Regions from separate parts of the Homo sapiens genome. Here regions 2 and 3 are each linked to region 1. The links are contacts of gene promoters, found by promoter capture Hi-C in blood cells and fetal thymus (Javierre and others, 2016). All regions are on one chromosome and are shown on one strand. Each heading gives the region's core, a stretch centred on a gene start or on the middle of the fragment in contact. The rest is flanking DNA. Distances are from core to core; before and after follow the strand shown.

The links. The method cuts DNA at HindIII sites, captures the fragments that hold promoters and counts their contacts. A CHiCAGO score of 5 or more calls a contact.
Region 2: a fragment that was not itself captured here is called in contact with the fragment with the promoter of IVNS1ABP in region 1 in 2 of 17 cell types (activated CD4 T cells and total CD4 T cells); the score reaches 5.7 in activated CD4 T cells.
Region 3: a fragment that was not itself captured here is called in contact with the fragment with the promoter of IVNS1ABP in region 1 in 1 of 17 cell types (activated CD4 T cells); the score reaches 5.3 in activated CD4 T cells.

Annotation. Positions count from the first base shown.
Region 1 is chr1:185,315,660-185,318,754 of GRCh38, reverse strand. It overlaps IVNS1ABP (influenza virus NS1A binding protein), which reads left to right and starts at 1,512. Exons shown (of 15, transcript NM_006469.5): 1 at 1,512-1,802. It overlaps CBSLR (CBS mRNA stabilizing lncRNA), which reads right to left and starts at 1,303. Exons shown (of 4, transcript XR_007066771.1): 1 at 478-1,303. RefSeq lists enhancers at 494-573, 824-923, 1,573-2,186 and silencers at 1,254-1,563, 2,024-2,083. The HindIII fragment of the contact is 11,176 bases long and covers 1-3,095 here.
Region 2 is chr1:186,311,717-186,314,811 of GRCh38, reverse strand. PRG4 (proteoglycan 4) reads right to left here. Exons shown (of 13, transcript NM_005807.6): 11 at 2,440-2,637; 12 at 1,918-2,043; 13 at 245-1,131. The coding sequence ends at 1,034. It overlaps TPR (translocated promoter region, nuclear basket protein), which reads left to right. Exons shown (of 51, transcript NM_003292.3): 50 at 88-183; 51 at 786-3,095. The coding sequence ends at 841. It also overlaps the pseudogene RNU6-1240P. Among named protein-coding and RNA genes, the nearest start is that of PRG4, 17 kb to the right of the region's middle. The HindIII fragment of the contact is 1,796 bases long and covers 531-2,326 here.
Region 3 is chr1:186,287,272-186,290,366 of GRCh38, reverse strand. No RefSeq gene overlaps it. Among named protein-coding and RNA genes, the nearest start is that of PRG4, 7.5 kb to the left of the region's middle. The HindIII fragment of the contact is 1,742 bases long and covers 809-2,550 here.

The DNA of each region.
Region 1 (3,095 bases), core at 263-2,762:
AAGAGCACAGTGTCAAATGTCAGTCTTTTTCTCCTTAAGAAAGATATAAAAAATCACTCGAATAGACATCTTAGTTCTTGTTTCCTCCTACAATTAATTGTCCGGGGGCGGGGGGACGGGGTGCGGGCGGGGCGAGGGAGACATACAAGAAATCTGTGAGAAAAAAAGGGGCGGGGGAATAAGTCTCCTTGCCTCAAGATTTTAGAAAAAAAGTTGTAAACCTATTGCAGATGAAGGCTCCCACAATTTATTTTTCCTGCTTCTATAAGCATAAATAGTTAATGATAAAAATGGTAAGAGGCATTGACAAAGAGCTCCTAGAATGTCTACAAATTAAGGTGAGTGATCAAACACAAGGTTAGGCCTAGACAGCTTAAGTGTCCTCCACAAATCAGGATAAGCGTTAACAGGACATTAACCTGGAAGCCTTTACCAAACTCTAATTTGGATATAATTTTACCTCACTAAATCCCTCACCTTCAATCAAAACTCCTTTCCCACGTGCCCTTCAGAGTCCACGAAGTTGCTGCCAGATCCCAGCTTAAATCACGTTTCGCTTTCACAGATCTCCCTCCCGGGCAAGGTGGTGGGGTGGATAATGAAGTTTGGCACCTGGTATAAAGGGCCCCAGTAGGTTAGGATAGGAACTACCACTTCTCAGGTGTGTTTTCTTTTTCCGGAAGAGGGCAAGACCAGTAGAGAACTGACTCAGCGTCTCCGACACGAGGAGAGCTGCACGCAGACAAAACAGACCCGGGGGGTGAAAAGTGGAAGTAAACTGGTGTTTGTGGCACCACTGATTTACACCTTCTCTGACTTCTCCAATATTTTTTTCCCCAAGTGACTCAATCTTCTCACCCAAACCAGGCCAAATGAGGGGTTAGTTGTTCGACTTCTTCTCAGAGTGCCTCTCTTCTTCCTCACACTCTCCACGCCTCCTCTCCGCACCCGCCACTTCCCCCCCGACCCTTAAGTTAAGGGCTCATGCCCAACTAGATCCTAATGTCCACGACGAGCAGCTCCAGTCTAGGGGGGGTTGCCTAGAAGTAGGTCTGACGCCGAGCAATCTAATCTCCCACGTCTGATCTCTCAGGCTATTGTGCCTCGAGGGGAAGTCAGAACAGGTGAGGGCGGCTTGAGGGAACCAGTTCCGGGACAGGCAACGCACAGGGCGGCGAAAGTGAGGGTGCGGGGCAAGGAACGGAGGGAGGGACAAAGGCGCGATAAGAGGAACGAGGGCGCCCCCCGAGCGCCGCCTATCTCCTCAGGATCACCTTGCGCTGACCTAGTTACACCGAGAAGGAAGGAACCCCAGTAGACCAGGGAGGAAGGCGGGGCGGGATGTGGGCGGGGCCGCGGGTGGGGCGGGGCTTAGAGTGGGATCTTTATGGAGCTCGCCTGTGATTTGCAGATGGATTCGAGACGGAAGCGGGCTGGGAGGCGTCGGCGGCGGCAGCGCACGTGGTGACGTGCGAGGGGGTGCGGCGCGAGCGGTCGGCGGCGGCGGAGGCAGTGTCTCCCGGTCGCGCGTGGAGGTCGGTCGCTCAGAGCTGCTGGGCGCAGTTTCTCCGCCTGCTGCTTCGGCGCGGCTGTATCGGCGAGCGAGCGAGTTCCCGCGAGTTCTCGGTGGCGCTCCCCCTTCCTTTCAGTCTCCACGGACTGGCCCCTCGTCCTTCTACTTGACCGCTCCCGTCTTCCGCCGCCTTCTGGCGCTTTCCGTTGGGCCGATTCCCGCCCGCTTCCTCCTGCTTCCCATCGAAGCTCTAGAAATGAATGTTTCCATCTCTTCAGAGATGAACCAGGTAATACGCGCTGGTTCTACGAACGACAGATGAGGGAGACGGCGCGGCTAGAATCCGAGAAGAAGGGATGGCGCCGGCGGATGGGAAGAGGGTGGGAGGCGCGGAAGCGGTGTCCTCATCAGGGGAGGCAGCCCCAAGCGGCCGCCGCCGCCCTCTGGGACGTGAAGCCCGCGCCGCGCTGGGCCCGCGCTCCAGCGCTGCCATGGTTGCCAAGTTGCGTTGGCGGCCGAGAGCGGGCGCCGGTCGCCTCGGAGAGCGCGGAGGCTGGAGCCCCTTTGCTACACTGGCGCGGGTGAGGCAGGCTGGGAGGAACAAGAGTTTTTTGTTCGAAGGGTTTTGGGGGGCCTGGGTTAGGGCGCCGCGGGCGGGGATGACCCGCCGGAAGGAGGGCGCGGGACTCCCCGTTCTTGCTGTCAGGAACGGACGCCTCGCCTCGGGTTTGCCTGGGGTTTGGGATTCTCTTCTGGAAGAGCTCTCGAGACTCGGCTCGTGTGGGCGGGCAGCCAGCCCCGGGCCTGGAGTAGGGTGGCACGGAGTCCCCGATCGCCGTGGGCCGCGGGGTCCTTTGTTCCCGCTCCACGTTGCCCGCTTTTCTTGCCAAGCGCGGGGAGAAGGGGGCGGGAGGAGGGAGGGAGCGGCTGCCCTGACGTGTCGGTACTGAGTGACTGCGGGGCTGGCCAATCCGGGGCGGGGGTGTGCGGGTGCTGGGGGCCTCGCCTCGCAGCCTGCGGAGTGGGCGCCGGCCTGGCTGCGCGAGGAGGAAGGCCTGGGACGCTCTTTCTTTTTTATGAAAGAAATCAGTGGCAAGATTTGCTCTTTTTCCGTCCCTCCACGCTTTTGGTTAAGTGTCTCTGATTATAAGCTCTTGATGATAGGAAGGTATCAGGCTGAGGGTTGAACCTAGGGTAACTTGAACCACTACTTGAGAACTACATTTACTTTTTCCCCCAATAGGTAGTGGACATATCTATTGGTTTGAGACAGCTGACATTTCAAGGAGAAATCAGATGTCCAAAAGGGCGCATTTTTGTGATGGAGCGTGCAGTGATGGAGCGTTAGAACACCTTGGCATCAAGCTGTTCGTTGAGTGTGTCGTGGTCTTCTGTCTACTAATAGATGACAACTCTGGAAGCCTAGTACCACTCTTAACAGATGAATAAGTACAGCATGGACTAGACTGCCACAGGCCATGCTTTCTTTTAATAATTCTAGCACCAGTGATTGATTTAGGAAAAACAAAATACTGATGATTACTTTTAGGCTAAAGCCTGCTGACACTTCTGTCTTAAAGAT
Region 2 (3,095 bases), core at 179-2,678, 1.0 Mb before region 1:
TTCATTCATTTAGTAATTAGTTTGTATCATTATAAATGCTTTCTCATTTTTTCACTTGCTTTTCTTTTATCTTAATGTTTTTCTTAGATACTAGTAGTAGTCAACCAAAGCCTTTCAGACGAGTAAGACTTCAGACAACATTGAGACAAGGTGTCCGTGGTCGTCAGTTTAACAGACAGAGAGGTGAATTTCTGACATAACTGGATTACATGATAGAATGTGGAATAGTAATAAATGGAACAAGTTTTCTAATCCTTAAGCCTCCAATTTATTTTTTTAATGTTCCAAAGTTTTATTAAATAATTACATGTTGAGCAGGTGATATTTACCAATCTGTAAACTTCATGTAGACAGATTTGTATACCTTAGATATATAATAAATATGTGCTTATATTTTATATTTATTGATTTCTTCCTTAAATCCAAATTAAGATTTGGAAAATATGAAGTGTTATAGTGTTATATTCATTTGTTGTATCTCTACCTATTGCCATTATATTGTTAATTTTTTTATACAACACGATAAAGCTTTGTGATTATGTTTTAGCTAGTAAAAGTGTAAAATTTTAATATTTCCATGTTTTCCAATATAACTTTTAGATTGTACTTGTGTCACAAAAAGAGGGATTAATCTGCTTGTAATAATTTCCATTGAAGTTGTAGAATACCCAACAGTTTTATATCCACAATGCCTAGATATTTTTTATAATGAACTAGGGTAAGTGAATACACTAGTTTTGAATTCTTAAAAGATATATTCAATTTGATTCTTTTTTCTTTTACAGGTGTGAGCCATGCAATGGGAGGGAGAGGAGGAATAAACAGAGGAAATATTAATTAAATGGTCTGTAAACAATAACAACTGTGAATAAGATTATCAAATCTGTTTTAGTGTAATGATTGTCAAGTTTAAAAACATTTTTATATATAAACTGGTATACTCATGTCAATATTCTTTATTAATAAAATGTTTTTCAGTGTCAAAATTTATTATTCATTTCTTCATTAGTTGACTCCTCCTTTGCTCATCAGTCTAAGGACAGTTGTACCAGACTTTGGATAAGGTCTGCCCAGAACGAGTAGTAATTGCTCTTGCTGTTCTACTAGGCACATCAATGTTATAGTATTGATCTAAATGGAAGAGAAAACATTTTTTTAGTTAAAAAGAAAACAATGCCCAAACTAAAAAATAACTTATGTTGACTATTATGCTCAAAGACAATGTTTATCATTTTAATAGAGATGTTTTTACTAATTAATTTGAACTTTATAACAAAAAGAAAAACAATTGCCTAGACTTTTCAGCTTTTTTGATGTTTCAAAAGATTGACATTTCACCATCTTTTTGTAAAATCAGGTTCAGCTCTCCTTTATGAAGTAAACATTAAAGAGTAACCAAGTTTGAAAAATAATTTACTTGGGGTTATTCCTTTTAAAAAATACATGCCAATGTCATTCATATTATGAAATTACAGGCAGAATAACTTAGATTTCTGGGCATTTCAAAGAAAAGCATCCTGAGTAATATAATTTAATTAATAAAATTAGTTTCTCAGGAACTTCTTTCTGATCTTACAGACTCTGCAGTGATGCAAATCATTATAACCTTGTGCCAAACAAGGTATCTGTTAAATGCCACAAATGATAGAAGTAAAATACTATTGTCAGTAGCAAGTTTACTCTAGTAACTGGATGTTTTATCGTAATCTCATGAAGGTTAGAGCAGAATTGAATTGCAGTGCCATCATTTTAATTGAAATTAAAGCAAAAGTCTTAACTCTTTTCCACAGCAATTAGAATAAGTACCGTAGTGTAACTTCTCACATTCAGTCATCATTGCAGCCAGCATTTTTACTTTATCTTCATGTTTTCACAAATGATATCACCTCCTTGGGAAACTGTTAGTTAATACCTTACCTTTAGAAAAGGCATAGTAATCATAGCCGTCAGGTTTTCTGATGTTGGGCAGTGATATAGCTGAGGTAACCACATTTGGAAGTCCTCTCCACAGTATACTCACTTTAACTTCATTATGAAGGACACCTGTAAGTGGCATGTTTAATAAAAGATACCAGATTAAAAGGCAATGTACTATCTTGGAAAGAGCCAGACATCTGAGTTTTAATCTCAGTTTTAGCCCTCTGATGTAGAACTATTGAGGGTTATAGACTGGTATATAATGTTCTTGGTAAGAAGTACTTGATAAATAGTATTGGTTATAACTAACAAACCTGAACAAACTGCTTTACTTACCCACAAGGAAAAAGAAAGTATTGGTCTTTGGTTATTCACTAAGGCAAGTGGATGAGTTTTTCATCAGTAAGCTTAAATTATTAGGGCTGTTTGATCAGTATCCATATTTCATAAGCCTTACTGTATAAGAAACTGTATTACATCTACTTATGTTTAAGGATTTTTTTAACACAATAAAAATGTTACCTTTGTCTTGATAAGCCAGTCTGGCAGGTGAATATTGAATTCTGATGGTGTGTGTTTGAGAAGGTCCTATAGCACGTTCAAAGCGACGTCTCCTAACCTGTGTCGTTTCTCCATACACTGGATAATTTAGAGCAGGCCTTCTTCCAGGGCACTTCTGTACAGGTTCCTGTTTATAAATATACTGCTGAATGCTGCCACCTGTTATGTATTAGAATATCACATGGAAAATGAAAATTAATTTTAATACCCTCAGAAAAGGTGGAAAACAACTTTTACAATGTATAGGAAACAGTTTTGTTCTCATTTTTCATATAATATATTGATATTAATAATGGCTATTAGTCAAGGGTATTATAAAAATAATTATTAAACTGAAATACTTGTTGAATGAATAGATGCAGCAAATTACATAGTTATATATTTAATTTCAATTGAAAGTGACAAGTGCTCAGTTTGGCAGCACATATACTAAAACTGGAATGATACAGAGATTAGCATGGCCCTTGTGCAAGGATGACATGCACATTTGTGAAGCGAAAGTAAATGACATTCTATCAGTGACCTGAAAACTCAAATGAATTGTGACTTGCCTGTGAAGAAATGAAAATAAAAATTGAGGGCAATAAGAATACTACCCTCAATATTGATTTTTTTCA
Region 3 (3,095 bases), core at 430-2,929, 970 kb before region 1:
TGACTTATTTTCCAGTAGCCAACAACATGAGTAATTTCCAACATGAGTGAGTGAAAGTGAATTGGGGTGCTATAACTCAGTATGACAAATACTTCATAATTGGGAAATTCAGAGAGTGGGAGCAAAGCCTGGGTGTGGTTGAAGGACCCATAGATAGGTGGGATAAGAGGGAAGTATCCCAAGAGACATTGTAGAAGACATTTCATTGAGTCATTCCAAAGCAGGAACACCAGGCTCTTTAAAGATATTGAGTATAATGCAGTATTGGCTGATTGCATAGTATTGCATAATAATCCATTTAAAATCCCTTTCCCCGTGATGGCAGCTAATTTCTATCAAAAGGATTAAGAAGCAGGACATTTGCAACAATTGTCTCCATGGAGCTTATGTTAAGCTTGATACAGAAAACTCAATCAGAAGATTAAAATTCAACATTTCCTCCTTTCTTTTGGTTGATTGCTTATGAAACAAGACTCCAGAGTATCTCTATATCTCTGGTAGCTCAATAAATGTTCTTGAATGAATTAACGAATAAATGTCACTGCTAATATTAGCACTTGCTCTGCCTGTCCCTTGGACTGGGGAAAAGGGCTTTGGTATTGACAAGCACTTGGGTTCATTGTATGTGTAACTTAGACCTCAAGATTCTTGAGGGGATGGAGAGCAGACACAGCATAAACGGCTACCTATTTATCCTTTTATTTGTATTCTGCTGTTTGTGCAAAGAAAATATTTATGGGAGGGGCACTGATAGAGACCAGACCCTTTGTTCCTCCAAGTCCTCCTCAGAGTAATATAGTAGAAAGCTTTGTTCTTTACAGAGGCAAACTCAGAGTCACAGCTATGCCTTGAGGAGTCCTATACCAGGCTTTGGACAACACCTCCACAAACCATCAACATTTATTAAGTATCAGCTAGGTGCCAGACATTTATTCTGATTAAAGCAAAACAAACATAAACAAAATAAAAATAAGGATAAATTCCTTTTTTTCATGCAGCTTGTATTGTATTTTACCTTTAAAATAAATTCTTAGGAGTGGGAACATCTTCATAATTCTTGATAAATATCAACAAATTATCTTGCAGTTTAGATTGTAAATTCATCAAAGGCAAGGATATGTTGTATCCCCAGCACTTAGTAGAGGACTTGGCACATAAGTGTTTGATAATATATCAGATTGAATTTAATGAAACTGTAGGATTGCCATTAAAAATTCTTTTTCTCCTAAAAATGAATTTGGTGCTTAGAGACACATACTGCTTCTTCTTTGGGACAGCATGCATTAATAGGCACGAGACTGAACTGATGGATGTGGCCTGTGTAGGCTGAAAAACCCAGCAAGGTAAGAAACAGTGCTGGGAAACAAATGACTTCTCAGAACTGAGAAAAGTTATGATCAGCCCGCCAAAGCACTGAAAACAGGAACTGCTCTTTACTTTGATCGTTTTTTCTGTTTTTTTTTTTTTTTTTCGAGACAGAGTCTCGCTCTGTCTCCCAGGCTGGAGAGCAGTGGCGCCATCTCGGCTCACTGCAAGCTCCGCCTCCCGGGTTCAAGCCATTCTCCTGCCTCAGCCTCCCGAGTAGCTGGGACTACAGGCGCCCGCCACCACGCCCGGCTAATTTTTTGTATTTTTAGTAGAGACAGGGTTTCACCGTGTTATCCGGGATGGTCAGGAGACCTCGTGATTCGCCCGTCTAGGCCTCCCAAAGTGCTGGGATCACAGGCGTGGGTTCACCGCACCTGGCCCTCTAGTTTGTTTTTTTAATCTTAAAGCACATTGCTATAGATATGAATGCTAGCAGAAGAACACAGGAGGTCAAAGTTTAGGAGAGTAGCCAAAAACTAATTTTTTTCCCAACACCCTTTATCTCTTCCATGCTTCTTGCAGAAGAGGAATGTGGAGGCCTTAAGGAGAAGATAAATGAAAGGCCAAAAAAAATAAGTCGTGATGTAAATAGATGACACAGCTTGCACATAACCAACTATCTTATACCTGGTAGAGGCAGGCAGGAATGTCAGAAAGGAAAAAAGTAGAGTAATTTATATTGATGTAAGACTATAATTGGGATTGTCTAAGGTGTTTTGGAAATCAATTGAACTACTTTGTGGTTCTGCTTTTGGATCTAAAAAATTAGTTTAACACAGGAAAGTAAAGAAACTATGTATTACGCAATGTAATGATCTAGATAAAATGTTATTTTTTTGAAAGCAACAATTCATTTTGCCCTCATCTTGCCTTTCAAGAGAAAGACTGATTTTAGTGAAACAAGATTTTAATAATTTCTCAGTTAAGTAGAAGGTGGCCAGCACCCAGAGATTCTGCACAATAAAGAAAGGTAGCAGGAAGCAGAGGGAGGGAGTGGTGGGCTGGAAGGAAAGGAGAGAGAGGGAGGAAGGGATCTTGGATAGAATGATGGTAAGCCTGAAGAGGGAACTTAGGTAAACAGCAATGGAGATTTATTAAGATATGTGCTGTGTGGTGTGAAATATAACTCCTTTCCCTGTTCTTTACACAATCTTTAGTAAATCCTATAAATTTACAAAAGCTTTTGATTTCAATGGCTTTGTTATGGTGGTTATAGAAATTAAAAAGAAGATTCTTTTTGCTATATGCATATTGGGTCATGATTGACACTGGGCAAAACTAGAAACTACATATGGGTGACTCTAATCCTTTATCGCTAAGGATACTAAATAATGACATTACATCTTATGTGTAAAATATAGAAACAGGAATATTGTCAGAGCTGCTTTCAGAGGCTGACAGTCACAAGGAGGGTATGGGCTGAAAGTATAAGTGTCCCTAATAAATTAAGGAATAACCGGAGGTAATCAAAATGTTTGACAGTTGACAGAACATCTCTGACTGGGAAACTGACACGGAGGCCTATGGGGCAGATCCCTGCCATCTCTCCAGGGCCTCTGTCAGGTGCAATCTGTCTGGGCTGATTCTTGGTCTGTCCCATGAGGCAATTCTAGAATGCTGGGTTGAGGTATCTAAGGACAGGAGAGATAGCATTTGGTTTTTTGCTTATATTTTGCTTTGTCATTGAATAAAGCAATATTTAGGCATAATATAAAGAAAACAATTCT